Linked DNA regions of Homo sapiens: regions 2 and 3 are each linked to region 1. Evidence: promoter capture Hi-C in 16 types of primary human blood cells and fetal thymus (Javierre and others, 2016). All regions are on one chromosome and are shown on one strand. The core of a region is centred on a gene start or on the middle of the fragment in contact, and the rest is flanking DNA. Distances in the headings are between cores, read along the strand shown. Region 1 holds the start of KCNG3 (potassium voltage-gated channel modifier subfamily G member 3). Region 2 overlaps MTA3 (metastasis associated 1 family member 3). Region 3 overlaps MTA3 (metastasis associated 1 family member 3).

Region 1 (4,573 bases), core at 1,770-4,269:
GGGATTGCAGATATTGGTTTTCATATACCTACACTCAGACAGTGAAGCTAAAACTGGGCCATTAAGCTAAGAAAAACATGCTTTTGCCTGAAATATCTAAGTATCTAGGAAACAGCTCTGACTTGAATAATTATACACATACATAAAATACATATACACAAATAAGCATTACTTTTCTCCCTTCACTTCTTTTGCAGTCTCCCTCTTTTCCATCTCTGTCTTCCCTTTTTTGTTTCTTGTGTTTCTCTCCCTAAAATTACTATGCATTTCTCTCATTTCTTTACAAATGCTTTACATTAATGATCTCCATATGGCCCTTTCCCTCTCCCAAAACACCCTCCCTCCCCCTAAGATTATATTTGAGGTATTTTACTGGTTTTGCTCATATACTGGTTCAGTCAACTCCCTCATTATCTGCACTAATAATAATTCAATTCTCCTGTTTCCTTTGCTAATGTAGCTCAAACCTTCACTAACCTTAGAATTCTACAGTTACTGGAGAATCAAAATTCCAAGTCCATTTTCCTAAAGCCCTCCTTAAAAAAAAAAGGCATTTATGTATTTAGGTAAATAAATTAATTTCATTGTATTGTTGGAGAACCAAATAAGTAACTCTTATCTGTAAATTCAAAACTGTTAGAACCTAATTCACTAAACAAAATGAGTTTCCTAATGAATTTCCTTTCAAAGCATGTATCTTCGATTTCAAGCCAAGAAGAAATAATAGACTCCGTGGCACTAGACAATTTTATTTACTTCTTAGATTTATATAAAAATCCTTACTCCCTACAGGAAGAATATTATGTAGAAGTAATCCACTGCAATAGCAAGGCCGCCGTTCCGAACATGTACATGCCTATCAGTAAAACATGACAGGGCACAACCTTAAATTTAAAAAATGAATGGAAGGAGGATCTTAAGACAGTGTCAAACAGATAAACTATAATATGCAGTTTGGGTTTTGTGCCCCAAAAGGCTGTCTTCTTTGAAAGTCCATCCTTAGTCTGCTTATTCCTCCCACTGAATATGCTCACTTGTACTAAAAACAGGAAAGTGCTATCACCACTTCAAGGTAAGACAGTCTAAGAAAAGACTGCAATATTTTCCCATTCATCCTAGTAAAGTAGAAAAAAAAATTTACCCAAATACTGTTTTCTGGATTTAGGACAGTTTAGATTTTTCTTTGTTCTCAAGGTAATGGTTTTTTCCCTTCCCATATCATAGACCCTCTGAAAGTCGCAGTGTGAATCTTTGCTACCAAACGGTGGACAAGAGGTTTGCTAACTCCATACTTTGTAGGAAAAGGGGGAAGAAAAGGGCACAGACATCCATTATTTAGAGTCTATCGATAAATTAACCTGCTTTATAATATAACGATTCCATTACAGCACATAGTATGCCGGGGGCAGAGTGTATAGAATGTGTGGAGAGTGCACATTTCACCATAACAAGAATCCATCTTTCCAAACACTACCAAAAATTGGCAAATAATTCAAACTGCGCTTAGTTCAAGGCTTAATTGTTGAACCCTAACAATAAAAGTTCAGAAAAATGTAATTAGCAGGTTGCTCTCTGCGCAAAAGTAAACTACAAAGAGGGGACATTTGTCTATCTCTACACGCCCCTCCCCATGCCTGAGGATTTCGCCCTCAAGAGGTGCGTCTAGTGTAAGGGCCAGACCCCGCTGGTGCCCCGGACAACGGGGTAGGAGTGGGGACCGACCGGTCCCGTAGTTGGCCGCGCCTGGGCCTCGCTGGGCGCGCACCCCGCTGGCTCGGTCGCCCGGAGGCGGACAGGACGGAGACGGGACGTATGGACGGGACGGACAGACGCGACAGGACGGACGGGACGGGTAGAGAAGCAGTGCGTCCTACCCGGAGGGCTCCCTCCCAGGGCCGGCGGAGTACCTGCTCCGGTCATCCAGGCTGCGGTTGTCGGCGGCTGCGTTGCGCCAGTCGGGCAACGTGCTGGCGCACAGCACCACCATGGACACGATCACGAACACCACCGACACGCTAGCCAGGATCTGCGCGGCCAGCGACGACGTGGGCTCCTCGAAGGTCCGCCGCATGCGCTCCAGCCAGCGCCTGGAGGGAGCCGCCTCGGCCCCGCCGGGGCGCGCCTCGTCGCGGCCCAGCACGCCCGGCTCGTCGGCCGAGTAGAAGGTGTAGGTGTCGGACATGCGGTCGTCGAGGCGGCGCTGGCAGCAGTACTCGAGGTGCGCGCCCTCCAGGCCCCAGTAGATCATCTCGTTGTAGAAGGAGAGCTCGCACATCCGCGGCGCGAAGCGCAGCTTGCCGTGGCCGCGCACGTAGAGCAGGATGAAGCCGAAGGCCTCCGAGTGCCGGTCGAAGAAGTACTCGTTGCGCTCGCGGTCGTAGTCGTCGCACACCTCGAGCACGTCGCGCTCGGAGCGGCAGCCGTGCAGCCGGCTCACGCGGCGCAGCGGGAAGTCCTTCAGCAGCTCCCGGGACAGCGAATACCGGGCGCCGCCCACGTTCAGCACCACCGAGGCCGCCCCGCTGCGCCCGAAGGTCATGGCTGGCCGCCCGGGGGACTTTCGGCCCGAGGGCCCCGCTGCAGCCCCCCACCCCAAGCCGCCACGCGGGGCCTGCCTGCCCGTGGCTGACGGGGGAGCGCGCCGTCGGGGCCCGCGCTCCCTCGGGGCTCCGCTCCTGCCCTCCGCTGGCCCGGGGGTCCCTGGGCTCGAGTATCTCCGGCGCTGCTAGTAGCGCGCCCTCCGCCCGGCGGTACCTGCGGGTGGCCGGGGAGTCCTCGCCGGCGCCAGCGCTGAGCCCCACCGGCTGGGAACGCGGCTGTGTCCGCGCCGCCGACCCTCGCGCCCGAGGGCTGCGCACACCGAGGCCGCGGTGCCCTCTCCCAAGCCGCGGGGCCGACCCCCTGAGGGCTGCGGGCGCCGAATGGAGCCGCCGGGGCGGAATAGCTCCCCGTCTCCGGCGCTCCCTGCGGCCGCGAATCCGGCGGCCGCCCCGCCGCCGTCCAGAGGCGAGAGGCAAAGTGAGCGGGTTCGGAGGCGGCGAAGAGCCGGCTCGCGGCGGCGGGGGCGGGGCCTCTGTGCAGTCCTCCTCCTCGCCCGCCGGCTCCGCGCGCGCCGCTCACCTCCCTCCGCGCCGCCCTCCGCTTCCCGCCCGCGCCCGCACCTCCCCGGCTTGCTCGGGCTGGGATTCCCGGGCGCCCCGCCCTGGACCTCGGGCTCCCCGCCTCGTGACGCCGTCCTCCCCCTCCGCTCCGGCCCGTAGTGGCGGGGAGGGGTCCGCAGGGCGGGGGAGCGGGGAGCCCAGCGCCGGGATGCCTGCTCCCGCGTCCTGCCCTGGGCCATCGGGATGAATTGGGCAGTCCCCAGGGCCCCTTTTAACAGCCCTGGTTCAAAGCCCAGTGTGGACTCGGGTGCGGGGACAGACGGCGTTTGGAGAGCTTTTTCCAGAAACTGTCCGGAGCCCAGCTCGGGTTCTGACATCGCCCCTAAGGATTTCTCAGGGAAGGCATCCCAGCCACGGCTTTTCCTGCCGACTTTGCTCTTCCTACCGCCGCGCGGGGCGACCCACGTACCGCGTGCTCAGAGGGCGGCTACACGCCCCATCCCCCAGCCTCGGTGCCGCCTGCCAGCCCGCGGAGGGAAGCGGTCCCCGACCCGGCCCCGGCCCCCACGTTCTGGGGCGCGAGTCCTGAGAAGGCGCCTAACGTGTAGCGCGCCTGGACCCTCTCGAGATGCTGCCCTTAGAGTGGGATGAAAGTCTGGGGAGGAACGCCTTGTCACCGGCAAAAACAGCCTTTCTCTTGGTCTTCGTCTGCATCCTCCTTTTCAAAATATCTTGATTTCCCCCGCGCACCCCTGACCCGGCTGCAGCACCGGCCCTCCGAGCGGGAAGAGCCCCGTGAAGGCTCCGCAGAGCGATCTACCCCGCGCTCTTGTCCGTGCCCAGAAAGCGGGTTCCACTTGGCAGGGATTATTTTAAACTGCTACCAGCAATTCATTCACCTGACACCCGACACCGGCAGCCCAGCCCGCCGGAGGCGAGACAGGTGAGTTGTAAGGCGAACCGTGTTAGATGCAAAACAAATACTAGAAGAAAAAAATAAGGGTGGGGTAGGGTGAGATGCGGTCATCTGACCACAGGGTAACCTGGCTGGTTAAAGGGAAGAGTTTTTCATTGCCCTCTACTTTTCGTAATTTTGTAGGATTGTCCGGTGCCCGCTAGAGGTCGCCAAACGGAGTCCTTTTGCGCTGGTTCTTAAGTGGATTCCTAGTGAAAAGGCAGACAACTGAAAATGTGAGTGCTGTCTTTTAAGTAAAATCACTCTCGGTGGCTTCTTAAAGAATGAAAATCTCTGTGAGTTGTTTATCCCCAGACTTGGATAATTTATCTTAAGAGCACTAAATGTGATTAAAAGCTCAAAAACAGGAGTTATTTGCTACTTTAGTATCTACTAAATAGTTTGCTATTCAGTATCTATTTTGCTATTTAGTGTCTACTGGGTAGATACTGCTACTTTGCTGTTTAGTATCTACTAAGTAGATATTAAACAAGAAAAATATCTGTAAGAAAGTGAG
Region 2 (4,427 bases), core at 1,911-4,410, 150 kb after region 1:
GTAATTCTTGAAACATTTCAAACCTTTTCATTATTATAATATCTGTTATAGTGATCTGTGATCAGTGATCTTAGAGGTAACTATTGTAATTGTTTTTGGGGCCACGAACCGTACCCATATGAAAGGATAAACTGAATTGATAAATGCTGTGTGTTCTGAGTGCTCCACTGACTGTCCCTTCCCTGCCTCTTTCTCTCTCCTGGGGTCTCCCTATTTTATGAGACACAACAATATTGAACTTAAGCCAGTTAATAACCCTGCAGTGGCCGGTAAGTGTTCAAGTGAAAGGAAAAGTAGCATGTCTCTCACTTTAAATCATAAGCAAGAAATGAAGCTAGTGAGGAAGGCGTGTCAGAAGCCAAGATAGGCTAAAAGCCACGCCTCTTTCCCCAGTTAGCCAAGTTGTGAATGCAAAGGAAAAGTTCTTGAAGGAAATTAAAAGTGCTACTCCACACTCCAGCCTGGGTGACAGAGTGAGACTCTGTCTCAAAAAAAAAAAAAAAAAAAAAAAGCTACACCAGTGAACACACATGAATGATAAAAAAAAGCAAAACAGGCTGGGTGCAGTGGCTCATGCCTTTAATCCCAGCACTTTGAGGGGCCGCAGCAGGTGGATTACTTGAGACCAGGAGTTCGAGACCAGCCTGGCCAACATGGTGAAATGCCATCTCTACTAAAAATACAAAAACTAGCCAAGTGTGATGGTGTGTGCCTGTATTCCCAACTACTCGGGAGGCTGAGGCAAGAGAATCCTTTGAACCTCGGAGGCAGAGGTTGGAGTGAGCCAAGATTGTGCCACTGCACTCCAGCTTGGGCAACAGAGTGAGACTTTGTCTAAAAAACAAACAAACAAACAAACAAACAAACAAACAAAACAGCCTTACTGCTTTACTGCTGATACCATGGAGAAAGTCTTAGTGGCGTAGATAGAATATCAAACCACCAAGAACATTCCTTTAAACCAAAGCCTAATCCAGAGCAGGGCCCTAAGTCTCTTCAATTCTGTGAAGACTGAGAGGTGAGGAAGCTGGAGAAGAAGAATTTGAAGCCAGCAGAGGTTGGGTCATGGGGTTTAAGGAAAAAATTCTTCATCATAACATAAAAATGCAAGTAAAGCAGCAAGTGCTGATGTAGAAGCTGCAGCACGTTATCCAAAACTAGCTAAGGTCACTGATGAAGGCTGCTACTCTGAACAACAGAGTTTCAATGTAGATAAAACAGCTTTCTATTGGAAGAAGATGCCATCTAGGACTTTCATAGCTAGAAGCTTCAAAGGACAGCCTGACTCTCTGATTAGTGACTAATGTAGCTGGTGACTTGAAGCCAATCCTCGTTTACCATTCCAAAAATCCCAGACCTCTTAAGAATTACACTAAATCTGCTCTGCCTGTGTCCTGTAAATAGAACAACAAAGCCTAAATGACAGCACCTCTATTTACAGTATGGTTTACTGAATATTTTAAGCTCACTGTTGAGACCTACTGCTTAGGAAAAAGGATTCCTTTAAAAATTCTTTTCAAAAACTGCTCATTGATAATGCTCCCCTTCACCCAAGAGCTCTGATGGGGATGTACAAGGAGGTGAATGTTGTTTGCATGACTGCTGAGACAACATCCATTCTGGAGTCTATGGATCAAGGAGAAATTTTGACTTTCACATTTTATTATTAAGAAATAACATCACCTAAGGCTATACTTGCCATAGATAATGATTCCTCTGATGGATCTGAGTAGTCAATCGAAAACCTTCTGGAAAGAATTCTCCGTTCTAGATGCCAGTAACAACAACTGTAATTGATAGGAGGAGGTCAAAATATTAACATTAAGAGGAGTTTAGAAGAAGTTGATTCCAACACTCGTGGATAACTTTGAAGGGTTTACGACTTCAGTGGTGGAAGTAACTGTAGTTATGGTGGATATAATATGCAAGAAAACTACAGTGAGCGTGGGCCCTGAGGATGTGACTGACTGAATTGCTGCAATCTTGTGGTAAAACTTGGATGAGTGAGTAGTCGATTCTTATGGATGAGCAAAGAAAGTGGTTTCTTGAGATGGAATCTACTCCTGGTGAAGATGCTGTGAACACTGTTGAAATGGCAACGAAGGATTTGGAATATTATATAAACTTAGTTGGCAAAGCAGTGGCAGGGTTTGAGAGGGTTGTCTCTGTTTTTGAAAGAAGTCTACTGGCTGAGCACGGTGGCACACGCCTGTAATCCCAGCACTTTGGGAGGTCGAGGCAGGCGGATCACGAGGTCAGGCGATCGAGACCATCCTGGCTAACATGGTGAAACCTCGTCTCTACTAAAAATACAAAAAATTAGCCGGGCGTGGTGGCGGGCGCCTATAGTCCCAGCTACTCGGGAGGCTGAGGCAGGAGAATGGCGTGGAACCCAGGAGGCGGAGGTTGCAGTGAGCCGAGATCGCGCCACTGCACTCCAGCCTGGGTGACAGAGTGAGACTCTGTCTAAAAAAAAAAAACAAAAAAGAAAGGAAGTCTACCATAGGTAAAATGCTATTGAGCATCACATGCTACAGAGAAAAACTTTTTTTTAGAGACAGAGTCTCGCTCTGTTGCCCAGGCTGAAGTGCAGTGGCACAATCTTGGCTCACTGCAGCTTCCGCCTCCTGGGTTCAAACGATTCCTGTGCCTCGACCTCTCGAGTAGCTGGGATTACAGGCATGTGCCACCATGCCCAGCTAATTTTTTTTGTATTTTTATTAGAGATGGGGTTTTGCCATGTTGGCCAGGCTGGTCTTGAAGTCCTGACTTCAAGCGATCTGTCCACCTTGGCCTCCCAAAGTGCTGGGATTACAGGTGTGTGCCATCCCCCCACCCCACCTGCCTCCCACCCCGCCTCCCACTGCCAGCAGTCTTGGAATGTTTTAACCAGAAACAAGGAATGCCTTTCCTTTCTTCAAGGCTACTTCTGGGTATTTATTTTTACATTTTATAACTTGGTAGTTTTCTTTGTTAAGTATTCATCTCTAACAAAAACAACAGATTTATCGATTTTATTGAAAAATACTGTATTTTTCATCATAAATGTAGAAGCCATTTTGAACTCTTATTTCAGCCTGAAGCATTAAAGCATATGCAGAATGTTTCTTTTCACTTGTAATCAGGCAACTGAGTAGATGCAAGGTTTAAAGAACTCTTCTTTTTTTTGAAATGGAGTTTCGCTCTTGTTGCCCAGGCTGGAGTGCGGTGGCGTGATCTCGGCTCATTGCAACCTCCGCCTCCCAAGTTCAAGCAATTTTCTCCTGCATCAGCCTCCCAAGTGGCTGGGATTACAGGTGCCTGCCACCACACCCAGCTAACTTTTGTATTTTTAGCAGGGACAGGGTTTCGCCGTGTTGGCCAGGCTGGTCTTGAACTCCTGACCTCAGGTGATCCACCTGCCTTGGCCTCCCAAGGTGCTGGGATTACAGGCATGAGCCTCTGCACCCAGCCACCCTTCTTTTTTCTAATGACTATTTTTTTAGGGGGGAAGGAGTGGGGATACCAGTAGGTATACCAGTAATTAACCACACTTGAAAAACATGGTCATTGCCATCACAGAAACTCCCATATGTAGCTAGTACCTGATTGCAGGGAAGTTAAATAGTAGGACATATCATATTCAAGAACAGATGTTTAGGATTTGCTGGAATCCATTCTTCCTAACCCTTTTAGTACTCCTGAGTGGGTACATTTCCACCAGTGGCCAGATTCTAATTTGCATTGGCATGGAATGTAGAACTGGAATTAATATCTTGGGTAGGTGGCAGCAGCAGCACTCTGCCAGGATATGTTACAGGCTTGCTTTCTTTGTGAACATGTCTTGATGGATAGGATACTGAGAGATTGTTGCAGCATTTGTCTTGCTAGGGAATAAATCTTTTTGTGGCTTTTCGATTTTTAAATTCATTTATGGCTACCCATCACCTAACAAACTCTAGAGATCTGAAAAGAGTATGTAGTTTACAAATGAAAGTAAAGGCGTCTTTTAGATTTTACATCTTTCACTGAGTTTGAATAAACCACCTAGAAAATTTTCCATAAAAGAGAAGTTTTGAGTCATTGTTTAAATGTATTATTATAACATTGGAATTTTAAGAAAAATTTGTTCTACATATTAAATTTAAATTTTAACTGTTAAAGTATGTTATGAAAACCTTAAATTATTAAACGAAAATGACTCTAGGTTCACAAGTTTGGGTAATCCTGACTATACTATGTTTTAATTGAGTAACCTTGGGGAAATGATTAACCCCTCCAAGTTCCTGTTTCTTTCTCTTTAAACAGGGAATGATAGTGTATGTAATACATTATATCGTTGCGATGAGCAAATGAGGTAATTCTTGTCATGCAGTTAGCACAGCGCCCAGCTGTTACAGTCTTCTCCCCCTGGCCTCTAGTACCACTCATTTAATAGCTGTTATCGG
Region 3 (4,810 bases), core at 1,023-3,522, 220 kb after region 1:
TGCCTTTGTCAAGACATTGAGGAAATAACCAAGATGACTCATTCCAGCTTTATTAATAGAGAAGAAAGAAAAATTTATCTTGTCCTTATCCCAAATATAACTTGAATTTCAGGTGAATCAGTAATATTAGCAAGAAATTATGTAGTGTTAACTCAATGGTTTGGCAGGCGTTTGATCCTTACAGGCTTTGGGTTGCTTCCTAGTGTTTATTTAGATTACTCTTCCACAAGATGTTTATTATATTTCTGCCTGTATCTTCACTATTATTCAACAATAGGTGAAAAGCTTCATAGCTTAGTAATTTATTTTTTCTCCTGGGAATCACCTGAATAGGAAGAAAAGAAATTGGATCATTTATACTTGTCAGTGGTTGCATAATAATTAGCCAATATCTGGGTGCTATATTTTCAGATTCCTGATTGTTTTAGGCTCTCTGCAGTATGTGCTTTGTCTATTTTAATGTTTTTAAACTTATTTTTTAACTTTTAAAAAAGTTCAGGGGTACATGTGCAGGTTTGTTATATAGGTAAACTTGTGTCAAGGGGGTTTGTTGTACAGATTATTTCATCATCCAATTATTAAGCCTAGTACCCATTAGTTATTCTTCCTGATACTGTCCCTCCTCTCACCCTCCACCCTCCAATAGGCCCCAGTGTCTGTTGCTCCCCTCTGTGCATCCATGAGTTCTCATCATTTAGCTCCGACTCATAAGTGAGAACATGCAGTATTTGGTTTTCTGTTACTGTATTAGTTTGCTAAGGATAGTGGCCTCCAGCTCCATCCATGTTCCTGCAAAGGACATGATATCGTTCTTTTCTTCTGGCTGCATAGTGTTTCATGGTGTACATGTACCACATTTTCTTTATTCAGTCTATCATTGGTGGATATTTAGGTTGATTCCATGTCTTTACTATTGTGAATAGTGTTGCAATGAACATATACATGCATGTGTCTTTATGATAGAATGATTTATATTCCTTTGGGTATATATCCAGTAGTGGGATTGTTGGGTGATAGTTCTGTTTCTAGCTCTTTGAGGAATCACCACACTGTTTTCCACATGGTTGAACTAATTTGTATTCCCATCAACCGTGTATAGCATTTCTTTTTCTCTTCAACCTGTTTTCTCTGCCAGCATCTGTTATTTTTTGACTTAATGATAGCAATTCTGACTAGTGTGAAATAGTATCTCATTGTGTTTTTTTTAACCACAATGAGAATTTTTAAAAAATGCTCTTTTGCCATCTTCGGTTTAATAATTTTCAGAAAAGAGTTTTTTTTTTTTTTTTTTTTTTTTTGGTGAAAGGGCTAGAACTCATAAAAACCTAACTTTTATTTAAAATTATTTGAAGTTCCAGACTTGCACATTTTAACTCTAGTAGAGCAAATAATTCCTGTGGGTATCAAAGGAAATTCCCTGTGTGTATGCCCAGAAATGTCTCAGTTTGCAAAAGGAAAAATTCTTCAGTAAATCAGAAAACCTGTAGGACATTTTTGTCAAATATTTGAAGGTGGGAAAAAGGCATAAACATAGTAGAATCATACAGGTTAAAGTGATTCTGTTAATATTTATGACAGTATTAAAGTGTTTCAATACACGTTTTGTTTTGTCCCTTTGTCTTGCACATCTACTCTTCCAAATGACAGCTAATTAAAACACAGAATGTTTGTATTGTATGCTTTATTTTTGTCTGAAAATGTCTTACAATAGGGTATAATGAGCATCATGAAAACTGATTAGCTAATACCCATCCTCACTGTTTCTTACTGTTCTGACTGTTGGATGAAATACTCTGTTTGCACACAGGTAGCCTTTTAAATCTCAGCACCAATGAATGACATAGCTTGATCAGGGTTAGAAAACCAGTGATAAAACCAAATGGCCCATTATTACTCTTGCAAATCCCTAGCCTAACAATTGAGTTTTGCCAAGATAGGTTAAGCCTTCACAGTGGGGAAGGGATGGCCAAGTATGGCCCATCTAGGTCAGAGATGGCGAAGTTTGTTGCCTTTAGCAGCTGTCATTTATCTTCCATGTCATTTCAATCTTACGTTAAGACTGATTCCACCTTGTGCTTTACGGCGATTATTTCTGCTATAATGTAGAAATGCCATGGCTAGAAATGAAGCATATTTCTGAGATGGGCACACGCAATAAAAAAGCATGAGTGTGTTGGATGTGTATTAGCTATACCCATATGGGGCTTTAAAGTGAGTGTTTTCCATATTACTCTGGTACCTTTTTTTTTTTTTTTTTCGCTTTATTTCTAGGGGTTAACGAGTTCTTTTGATAGCCCATGAAAACATCACATGGTTATTGTAGGCATGACCTAGATAATGGTGGTAATGTCCTTGAAGAGTGCTGTCTGTATTCTCTTGCATGTAAATTATTATTGTTATTATTATTATTGAGATGGAGTTTCGCTCTTGTTGCCCAGGCTGGAGTGCAATGGCGTGATCTTGGCTCACCGCAATGTCCACCTCCTGGGTTCAAGCAATTCTCCTGCCTCAGCCTCCCGAGTAGCTGGGATTACAGGCATGTGCCACCATGCCCAGCTAATTTTGTGTTTTAGTAGAGATGGGGTTTCTCCATGTTGGACAGGCTGGTCTTGAACTCCTGGCCTCAGGTGATCTACCCTCCTTGGCCTCCCAAAGTGCTGGGATTACAGGCATGAGCAGGTGGGCAGAACACAAGATTAGGAGTTCGAGACCAGCCTGACCAACATGGTGAAACCCCATCTCTACTAAAAACACAAAAATTAGCCCAGCATGGTGGTGTGCACCTGTAATCCCAGATACTCAGGAGGCTGAGGCAGGAGAATTGCTTGAACCCAGGAGGTGGAGGTTGCAGTGAGCTGAGAGCACGCTATTGTACTTCAGCCTGGGTGACAGAGTGAGCCTCCGTCTCAAAATAATACTACTACTAATAATTACATGTTATTTTATGTAAATCCCATTTAGAAATTGGGAACCAGAACTAGAAACCATTTTCTCAAACCCAAAAGGAAATTATGCGGGAATCTGGTGGCTATTTTGTACTGTTTTCCACTTGTACCTTTATTTCTGTGGTGCATGTAGTCTGGCTAGAGAAATCCATTTCATTGGTTATCTCCATGTTTCTTTCTCTCCTCAGATGCAGACAGACATGCTGAACTATCTGGAAGTCCACTGAAAAGCAAAAGCACTAGGAAGCCTTTGGCATGTATCATTGGGTATTTAGGTGGGTATTTTCTAATAGAGGAAAAACTCAAAGAGCAATTTCTGAATAGTATAGATATTTGGCAATTCTAAATGGACATACCTAAACTAATTCAGGCCCTTCAAATAGCCGAAATTGGATACCTTTATATAGTCAGTTTATTTTGTTTCAGAAACTTTTATTACCAGCACACACAACACACACACATACACACACAGATTTATGATATATGTCTACTTTTTCCAAAAAGCCATCGAATAAAAATGTAATATATATTCATGGAAATAAATACAGATTAAGCAAAAAAGAAAATGAAAAGCATTCAGTTAGTACTTAGGATGAATAGTCTTAATATTCTTCTTCAGATCCCTTCCCTGTTTCTAACTCACCTCACCTCTTTTTAAATAGAAGATTTATTTACTTATTAAAATGAGATCAAACTGGTTTATAACTTATCTTAAAATAATTATAGGTTTTAATTTTTTATTTTATTTGTTTTTTGTAGAGACAGGGTCTCGCTTTGTTGCCCAGGCTGGTCTCAAACTCCTGGCCTCAAGCGATCTTCCTGCCTTGACTTCCCAAAGTGCTGGGATTACAGATGTGAGCCACTGCTTCAAGCCTTAAATATTTATAGTTTTGGTGTGCTTTAGGTGACTTTGAAGGGGAGGCATTTGTATTGCTTTCTTATTTTTATCATGCCATCTGACTTGGAAATCTCCAAAGATGATAGCTCCATTTTTATGTTGAAATATCACAATTAAGAATAGTATACAAAATTACTATGCAATAATCTCTTTGTTTAAACAAAGTTTTAAGAGAAATAACTTACAAAATAATGGTTTTTCACATACCTAGAAGCAAGAATGGCATGTTTTTGTGCTTCTCATAGTTCTTTTTCAGTAAAGTGAAATATGTACTCAGAGTTGCTTTGACAGAAAGATTTATAATTATGAAATGTTCAGACTGCAGACATCAACTCTTTTAAAAATCAAAGTGTAGTCTTGAATTTGGTATATTATCTAGTCCTTACCCAAAAGAATGTTCCAGGATTCAGAGGCTCAAAGCTTCTTCTTTGATGTTACTGTACTACCTTATTCCTTGCTTTATTTATTTATTTATTTATTTATTTTATTTATTTATTTTTTTTGAGACGGAATCTCACTCTTCTGTCCAAGCTGGAGTGCAGTGGCGCAATCTCGGCTCACTGCAAGCTCCGCCTCCCAGGTTCACGCCATTCTCCTGCCTCAGCCTCCTGAGTAGGTGGGACTACAGGCATCCGCCACCACGTCCAGCTAATTTTTGTATTTTTAGTAGAGACGGGGTTTCACCTTGTTAGCCAGGAGGGTCTCAATCTCCTGACCTCATGATCCGCCCACCTCGGCCTCCCAGAGTGCTGGGATTACAGGCATGAGCCACTGCGTCCGGCCATTTCTTGCTTTATTTCTCAGGGGTTAAAGAGTTGTTTTGATATCCCCTGAAAATGTCACATGGTTATTGTACACATGACCTACGTAATGGTGGTAATGTCCTTGAAGAGTGCGGTCTGTATTCCCTTGCAGAACTGTCTCCAGATGCCCCTTCCCACCTTGCATGGGAAAGTTTCTGATCACA

The links. Contacts are between HindIII fragments. The CHiCAGO score rates a contact against its expected background, and 5 or more counts as called.
Region 2: a contact is called between a fragment that was not itself captured here and the fragment with the promoter of KCNG3 in region 1, in 12 of 17 cell types (fetal thymus, naive CD4 T cells, naive CD8 T cells and 9 more). The highest score is 13.4, in fetal thymus.
Region 3: a fragment that was not itself captured here is called in contact with the fragment with the promoter of KCNG3 in region 1 in 1 of 17 cell types (fetal thymus); the score reaches 6.9 in fetal thymus.

Annotation. Positions count from the first base shown.
Region 1 is chr2:42,490,963-42,495,535 of GRCh38, forward strand. It overlaps KCNG3 (potassium voltage-gated channel modifier subfamily G member 3), which reads right to left and starts at 3,020. Exons shown (of 2, transcript NM_133329.6): 1 at 1,875-3,020. The coding sequence starts at 2,539. It also overlaps a transcript of MTA3 not described here. RefSeq lists enhancers at 1,207-1,964, 1,965-2,722, 4,047-4,341 and silencers at 2,803-2,892, 3,073-3,122, 3,213-3,292. The HindIII fragment of the contact is 17,203 bases long and covers 1-4,573 here.
Region 2 is chr2:42,644,688-42,649,114 of GRCh38, forward strand. All of the region lies in intron 6 of MTA3 (metastasis associated 1 family member 3), which reads left to right. Among named protein-coding and RNA genes, the nearest start is that of MTA3, 78 kb to the left of the region's middle. The HindIII fragment of the contact is 3,791 bases long and covers 1,266-4,427 here.
Region 3 is chr2:42,715,855-42,720,664 of GRCh38, forward strand. It overlaps MTA3 (metastasis associated 1 family member 3), which reads left to right. Exons shown (of 17, transcript NM_001330442.2): 15 at 3,134-3,220. Among named protein-coding and RNA genes, the nearest start is that of OXER1, 46 kb to the right of the region's middle. The HindIII fragment of the contact is 3,978 bases long and covers 284-4,261 here.